Regions from separate parts of the Homo sapiens genome. Here all the other regions are linked to region 3. The links are contacts of gene promoters, found by promoter capture Hi-C in blood cells and fetal thymus (Javierre and others, 2016). All regions are on one chromosome and are shown on one strand. Each heading gives the region's core, a stretch centred on a gene start or on the middle of the fragment in contact. The rest is flanking DNA. Distances are from core to core; before and after follow the strand shown.

The links. Contacts are between HindIII fragments. The CHiCAGO score rates a contact against its expected background, and 5 or more counts as called.
Region 1: a fragment that was not itself captured here is called in contact with the fragment with the promoter of KRTAP29-1 in region 3 in 1 of 17 cell types (endothelial precursors); the score reaches 5.2 in endothelial precursors.
Region 2: the fragment with the promoter of KRT24 here is called in contact with the fragment with the promoter of KRTAP29-1 in region 3 in 1 of 17 cell types (erythroblasts); the score reaches 5.7 in erythroblasts.

What each region holds. Positions count from the first base shown.
Region 1 is chr17:40,740,665-40,743,364 of GRCh38, reverse strand. No RefSeq gene overlaps it. Among named protein-coding and RNA genes, the nearest start is that of KRT25, 13 kb to the left of the region's middle. The HindIII fragment of the contact is 1,908 bases long and covers 416-2,323 here.
Region 2 is chr17:40,702,280-40,705,090 of GRCh38, reverse strand. KRT24 (keratin 24) reads left to right here and starts at 1,339. Exons shown (of 8, transcript NM_019016.3): 1 at 1,339-2,012. The coding sequence starts at 1,398. The HindIII fragment of the contact is 6,314 bases long and covers 652-2,811 here.
Region 3 is chr17:41,301,471-41,304,170 of GRCh38, reverse strand. It overlaps KRTAP29-1 (keratin associated like protein 29-1), which reads left to right and starts at 1,320. Exons shown (of 1, transcript NM_001257309.1): 1 at 1,320-2,345. The coding sequence starts at 1,320. The coding sequence ends at 2,345. The HindIII fragment of the contact is 6,603 bases long and covers 540-2,700 here.

The DNA of each region.
Region 1 (2,700 bases), core at 120-2,619, 560 kb after region 3:
GGCCTCAAATGATTCTCATAAATAAAATTTTAAGGAAAATTAGCTGTTGGTAATCAGAAATTGCTAAACAAGTTACTATGAGCAAGAGCCAATAGAAACAATTTTAAAATATAGAGCATAAAAAATGATCAATATACTTTTAAAACTAAAACTTTGAAAATATAAGCAGAATCCAAAACACTATGAAGAATGACTAAGGATATTTGAAAAGAACCAAATATAAACTTCTAGATATAGGTAAGAAATAACATTTAAAATATCAATGTTTAGATCCAATAGTAGATTAGACACAGTGGGAGAAAGAATTAGTAAACTGAAAAGTAGAATGAGGGAATTATCCAGACTTCAGCACAGAGAGAAAAAATTAGGTAGGTAAGTAGGTAAGTAGATAGATGGATAGACACATAGATAAGCTTAAGAGAAGCATAAAAGAGGATAAAGGATAAAAAGAGACAGCCCTATTAAAAATGGCACAAAAATTTGAACAAGCTCCTCACTGAAGAGGAAATCCATACATTCAATAAACATGAAATATACTCAATCTTATTAGTAACCAGAGAAATGCACATTAAAAATCACAGTTAGCTTCCATTTCACACTTCCCAACTTGTCAAGTATCAAAAAGTCTTCCTGTATCAAATATATATGAGTATGTGGAGCAACAGAAACTCATACTTTTGTGAGGTTGTAACTCTGAACTTCGAAAATTCGGTTTCACCTAATCAACTTGGATATATGCATATTCTATGCAGTGGGTTGAATATTTACAATCTTCCAAAATTTCTATGTGGAAGCCTAGGTGATGGTATGAGGAGGTGGGGTCTTTGGGAAGTGATTAGGTCATAAGGGTGGAGGCCTCATGATTGAGAATGGTACCCTTAATAAAGAGACCCAGAGAACTCCCTTGCCCTTCCACCTTGTGAGGACACAGTGTTACATGGCACAGAAGGTGACATCTATGAACAAGGAAGTGGACTCTGATCAGACATCAAAGTGGCCAGCACTTTGATCTTGAACTTCCCAACCCCCAGAACTGTGGGAAATAAATCTCTGTTGTTTATAAGCCACCTAGTGTATGGCATTTTGTTACAGTAGACCAAACAGATTAAGGAGGTCTAAAACTTGGAAAGACCCTTACACAGGTGCACCAGGAGACATGTCCAAGAATGTTCATGCAACATTGTTCATAGTAGTTAAAAACTAGGAACAATCCAAATACTAGCCATCAATGGTAGGATGGATAAATAAAGTGAAGTCTATAACAAAAAATGCTATCCAACAGTGGAAAATAATGGACTATAAACCCCTGTGGTGATGCTGTGATCCCACTGGCTACCCAGATCCAGCAGGCTTCCAATGGAGAGCTTTTCATCCCAGCTGCATAGGTATTGGCAGCAGGCAGTCCTCAGCCATCAGCCCCTCAGGGGTTGCTTCAGCTGCAGTGTCACCTCACCTGAGTTCACACCCTACATCCAATGAATAATTGATACAGAAGTATAAAGGCTTGGCCATCTTGGCCCCACTCAGGACAATACTGAGCTCCAGAGCTCCTCATGGAAGCTCACTTTCTACCTGTGCCCAATCCTGCTTTCTTCTCCCCTTCCACAGGTATTGATCCCAGGGCAATCTTTAATAAGCACCCTGCACACTGAACTCAGCTCTGACTCTGCTTCCCAGAGAATCAACCTACAACTGCCGCACACATCAACAATGATGAGTTACAGAATCATAAAGCCAAATGAAGGAAGCAAGTCCCAGCAGAGTGCATAAGGCGGATTCCATTGTATAAAGTTCCAAATAGAAAAACTAAACAAGATATTGTTTAGAGGTGCATATGTAGATAGCAAAACCTTTTTTAAAGGCAGGTGAAAGGTTTTCTTCCCTTCTGACACCAACTCAGTGTCCTACAATTCAATTCAATTCTAACACTAACACCCTGGAGTTAGTGTCAGACTCCACGTGTCTAAAGGCTCAGTCCCACAAGACTGTCCTCACATCAGATACCAGCCACAAGTATCAGGCCCGCAGGTTACCCACACTTCTGTCTGACATGGCTACAAATTCAGGGTTCTCACAACCTCCCCCTCCGCAAAGTTCAATAATTCTCTAGAATGACTCACAGAACTCAGGTAAGTGCTTTACTTATTATTGTGGGTTTACTATAAAGGATACAACTCAGCAACAGCTGAATACAAGAGATGCCCGGGGCAAGGTCAGGGGCGAGGAACACGGAGCTTCCATGCCCTGTCCGGGTGGGCCACCTCCCAGCACCTTGATGTGTTCACCAATCCAGAAACTCTCTGAACCCCCTCATTTAGAAGCTTTTATTGAGGTTTCATCATGTAAGCATGATCGATTATTAACTCAGTCTCCAGCCTCTGTCCCCTCTCTGGAGGGTGGGGAAGGGTTAGGGCTGAAATGTCTAGGCTTCTCATCAAGGTTTGGTCTTTCTGGCAGCCAGCCCCCATCCTAAAGCTACTTAGCGGCCCACCAAGAGTCACCTCATTAGAACCAAAGATGCTCCTATCACACAAGAAATTTCAAAGGATTTAGGAGCTCTGGGTCAGGACAAGAAAAGATGCTTCTATCACTGAGGAAATTACAAGGATTTTAGAAGCTGTGTGCCAGGAAATAGAGACAAAGGCCAACTATATATTTCTTATTATTTCACAGCAAGTAATAAAGAAAACTCAGGATAGT
Region 2 (2,811 bases), core at 90-2,589, 600 kb after region 3:
AGTAGCTAGGATTTCAGGCGCCTGCCACCATGCCTGGCTAATTTTTTGTATTTTTAGTAGAGACGGGATTTCACCATCTTGGCCAGGCTGGTCTCGAACTCCTGACCTCAGGTGATCCACCTGCCTCGGCCTCCCAAAGAGCTGGGATTACAGGTGTGAGCCACCACGCCTGGCCCCAAACTCTTTTCATATTGCAAAATTAAAATTCTATGCCCAGTAAGCAACAACTGTCTATCCCCAACCCTTCGGCCACTGGCAACTACCATTCTACTTTCTGTCTCTGTGAATTTGACTACTCTAGGCACCTCATAGTACTGGAATTATACAGTATCTGTCTTTCAAAAAGACACTATTAAACCGGTGAAGTGACTAGAAGACATGAATGGAAACAGTCTAAAATACAAAGGGACAAAAAGCCATGAAGCACAAAGGGAGCTCAGGAGGGTTCAGAATCTATAAAATAACTCCAATTGTAACACTAGTTATCAGAAGTAGATACAAATCCTCTTTTATCTTTAAAACGAAGGCAGGAGATATCTGCATCATCTCTTCATTTCTTGAAATTTGACTCAAAAAGGAAGTTGCTGTCTTTATATCAGACTAGAATTCAACCAGAAAGAAAATCGTATTAAAACAATCTGCCTAAAAGCTTTTCAATCTTTCTTAGACATTAGCTACTTGAATAAACATGTTGCTGAGATGTAATAATACTTACCTAGAAAACTATTATTTATGTTTTTCTTATGAACTATAAAACATAATTGTTACAAATTATATGCTTTTTTGTATATTATACAAAATACAAAAAAAGAAAGCAATAACTTAAAATCACAAACTTCAACAACCTTAAAAAACACGCTGATTGAAATAATCAAAGAGATGGATGCTTAATCAAATCTGAAATTATTGCTGATGTGAAAGCTAATTTCAACTTTTGAGAACAATATGAACAAAAAAGTTACATGATTGATGGGAAATTTTTATTCTCATCATATTAAGTATTTTAATTACATTTGTTAACCTGGAGATATTCTCTGCAAATGTGAAATCATGAAGCAAATTTAATAGAACTACACTTCCAGAGAAAAGTTACCAATCATCAAAACCTCTGAAAGATTAAAACTGTAATTCTGAAAATTTTTTTGTTTTGCTCCACTTTATTCTTTTTTTATTGATATAGTAAATGTCCCAGGGCTCTGACCTAGCTTCAGAGAAGTGTTCAAGAAACAGAAATTATCCAATTACGGATTACCAAAACTGTAACAGGGATTAAGAAGTGACAGAGAAAAGGAACACCCTCGAAGTGTGTATATAAAGGCCAAAAAGGCAGCCTTGAATACACTCTTCGTCATCACCTCTCCTATTCGCCTGGACAAGCTCATGTTTGCAGGAGCACCATGTCTTGCTCGTCTCGCGCCTCCTCCTCCAGGGCTGGAGGCAGCAGCTCAGCCAGGGTGTCTGCTGGTGGAAGCAGCTTCAGCAGTGGAAGCAGATGTGGTCTGGGGGGCAGCTCGGCCCAGGGCTTCCGAGGAGGAGCCAGCAGCTGCAGCCTGAGTGGGGGGTCTAGCGGTGCTTTTGGGGGCAGCTTTGGAGGGGGCTTTGGTAGCTGCTCAGTAGGGGGTGGTTTTGGGGGAGCTTCAGGCTCTGGGACAGGATTTGGTGGGGGTTCTAGCTTTGGCGGGGTCTCTGGATTTGGCAGGGGTTCTGGATTCTGTGGGAGTTCTAGATTCAGCAGTGGTGCTACTGGAGGCTTCTACAGCTATGGTGGTGGTATGGGAGGTGGTGTTGGCGATGGGGGGCTTTTCTCTGGAGGGGAAAAGCAAACCATGCAGAACCTCAATGACCGCTTGGCCAATTACCTAGACAAGGTCAGAGCCCTGGAGGAGGCTAACACTGATCTGGAGAACAAAATCAAGGAGTGGTATGACAAATATGGGCCTGGGTCTGGAGACGGTGGATCGGGAAGAGATTATAGCAAATACTATTCAATAATTGAAGATCTCAGAAACCAGGTGAGACTATCTGTGCCTGAGTTTCTATTATTTGTGGATCTTTCACTTCTTTTCAGATCATGTACTATAATGAAAATTTTAAGAAATTATTTGAAAACATATTTGCTTGTTACATATGCAAAGTGGGACCTGATGTGTCTTAATTATTATAGTACCTTATGTGATGTCCAATCACATTAATTTTCTGTTTCCATCTCAGTTTCAGTATTTCTACATAACAGTAAAACTTATACAACACCAGGCAGCTAATTATCATTTATATATAAGAATGGTGGCAGTGAGTCAACATTAGTTTAATCTAATTATTTATGATGAATTCTGACAGACTGACACATTTTATTGTCTTACAAGATTTAAATATTCTTTAGTATTATTTTTCTTCCCAGAAAATCTGGTGCAAACATTACATAAGAATGTAGTAGAATCTAAAATGTTTAGCCACTTTTGTATGGGAAATATATTTTTAAAGACTTTTTTGGAAGTGAAATACAATTTTTGCACTATTTTCTGAAAAAGCTCATGAGATAATGATCTAACAAAGTAGCAGAAATATGCAGAGGACTATGTCCTGTAAAACAGGTTCCTGTGCCTAGTCCAATAAATGTGCAGACTGTTATCTTTTTGCAGAAAGATGTAGTCCTAAATATACCAGCCCCAGATATACAGGTCTGGGGCTGTATACTTAGTCATTACTAAGTAAGTTTGCAAAGCAAGTCACCTTTAAAAGCTAATAGCACAGGCCGGGCACGGTGGCTCACACCTGTAATCCCAGCACTTTAGGAGGCTGAGGCGGGCAAAT
Region 3 (2,700 bases), core at 71-2,570:
TAACACCACTTTACAGTGATTTTTTTTATTATCACTGCTGGCGTGTTTTTATTTGTATAGAATTCATATGCTATTGATGCCCTAGGGTGGGTTTGATACTTCCTGATGAAATATTTGGTAGTTTAAAAAATTTCCAAAATTAAAAGACTGTGTTTGAGTGTATTGATAAGTAGAGGTAAGTACTCACACCAGTGTGGTCTAGCTGCTGATTACAGTCACTGGAGTGGGCGGAGGATCCCCAGGATGGGGCCTGGGCAACCTGCTCACGAGCCAGTCTGTTGCCATAGGGGTGTCAGCCTGCAGCCACTATATCAGTGTCGCCTTCTCCCTGCCTCCCCAAAGTCAGGGGGTCTAATAGGTGGTTAAGATCAGGGGTTTGGTGGTCAGACAAAGCTAGGTTTGAATTTTGTTTCTACCCCTTTTCATTTGCATAATTTTGGGAACATGATTTAAACTCTATGAGTTTTGCCACTTCTGTTTTCTTCTTTTCTGTTCTAAAAAAATCTTGAGAGGAACCAATTTGGGGGAGATTTTAAGCTTCCTAAAAGGGCCAATGAAGTTTTATATTTTAATCTTAACTTTGTTTTAAACCTGGTTTCTTCTTTATTTATTACTTTTTTTTAGTTTTGCCACTTCTAACATAGTGATGACAATTATACTTACTGAAGTCATTGTGAGGATCCAGTGAAAAATGCAGCCAAGGACTTGATCTAGTAACTATGCAATAAATGAAAGCCATTTCTATTGTTATTATTAGTAATAGTACTAGTAAACAAGTTTCAGGAATGATAAATGGGAAGGTTTTAAAAAGAGGTAGAGGCACTTAAGTGTCCCTGGGTTCCTTGGACTAATTTTCCATTTCCCGTCTTGACATCCTCTCCCCAAACTGGGTCAAGGCTTCATTTCTGATTGAATGGTGCAAAGCTGCATTCCTGGAGGAACAGCAGGGCCACTCTGGCTTGGCAGAGGCCTCCTGATGAAAGGTTAGTGCCAGGAAAGGCCTGCTTCAGTGAGGCTGGAGAGCAACCTGTAAAAGAGACAGCTCATCCAAGAGCAGGAGCAGTGTCAACGAATCCAAATGCAGCGCAGAAAACTCCCGACTCAACAGACACCTTTTCAAAGTTGAAACATCTCCCAGGCTCCTGAAGCCTGCTAATCAGATGTTTGCATGCAAATGAGTAAAAACAATAACAAGGAAAGATGCTGCATGGCGTGCCAACACCCCTAGTGAAGGACTATAAAAGCCCCTCTGTATCGGATGTCTTTCCAATGCAGGTATACTGAGCTTGCAACTTCCCAGCAAGGTCAGCACCAGCACCATGGCAGACGGCTGTTGTCCTGGAAACACCACAGCCATTCCAGCTGTGCCCACCATCACCACATACCCAGTTAAAGGTGGATTTCGACATGCTCTCTGTTTGCCTAGTTCCTGCCACAGCAGAATGTGGCAACTGGTCACATGCCAAGAAAGCTGTCAGCCATCCATTGGTGCCCCAAGTGGCTGTGATCCTGCTTCGTGTCAACCTACCCGCCTTCCAGCAACGTCTTGTGTGGGTTTTGTTTGCCAACCTATGTGCTCCCACGCAGCCTGCTATCAGTCTGGCACTGGTCAGTCTCCTTGTCTGGTTAGCTCATGTCAGCCATCCTGCTCGGAATCTACTTGTTGTCAGGAAAAGTGCTGCGATGCCAGTCCCTGCCAGCAAAGCTCCTGCCAGGAATCTGTCTGCATGTCTGGATCATGTCAGGCAGCTTGTGGCCAATCAGTCTGCTGTGATGCTGGATCCTGCCAGCCATCCTGCTCTGAAGTGACCTCCTGTCCGGAAACTTCTTGCCTACCAACCATCTGTACAGCTAGTCCATGCCAACCAACTTGGTGCCAAGGAAGTTCATGTCAACCCGTCAGTGGTGAAGGCCAGCCCTGTAAATCAACTTATTATCAACCCATCTGCTATATTTTCAAGCCTTGCCAATCAGCCCTCTACATGCCTGTTCCCTGCCAGCCATCGACTTGTGTGTTCAGTTCTTGCAATACTACTTGCTGTGTGCCTTCCCATTGCCAGCCACCTCACTGCCAACTGGTTCCTTCCACATGCTTCATCTACCAGCCAGTGGCTAACTGCCAGGCCCCTTGTTCCACAAAGAACTGTTGCAAACCAGCTTCTTGTGACACTGTGATTTCTGGCCAACCAACTTGTGATGGACCCCCTTCCTATAACCAGAGTGGCTGCAAATCAGCTTGCTGTGTGACTGGTTTAGGCACATCACCCAGTAGTGGCTCCAATTGCTTGCCGACTTCATGCCAACCCAGCTGTGAGTCCAGCTTCTGCAAGGCAACACTTTGTTAATGGAGCCCTCTTCACACCTCCTCTGAGGGTCTGCGGCTGTCTATAAATGCATAGCCATCCCTGGGTGCCTGCCTCCCACCGAGTACAAATGCTGCCTGCTTTCTAACTTTACCCTGATTCCACCTTCACATTCTCTCCAGGTGCTGACCAGGGAACTTGTCCAGGCACGAAGAGATCCTTCTTAACCGAGAATAACCTTTCAGCAACCATGGACTACCACACTGCTGCTTGCATTTCCTGATGATGTCAATTCATTTCACTTTAGCAAACCCTCTCTTGTTTCTCTTTCTTGATGCTGCCTGGTCTTTCAGAAGACCTCGTTGCTGCCAGCTGCTAATAAAAATGTGACTGGTTA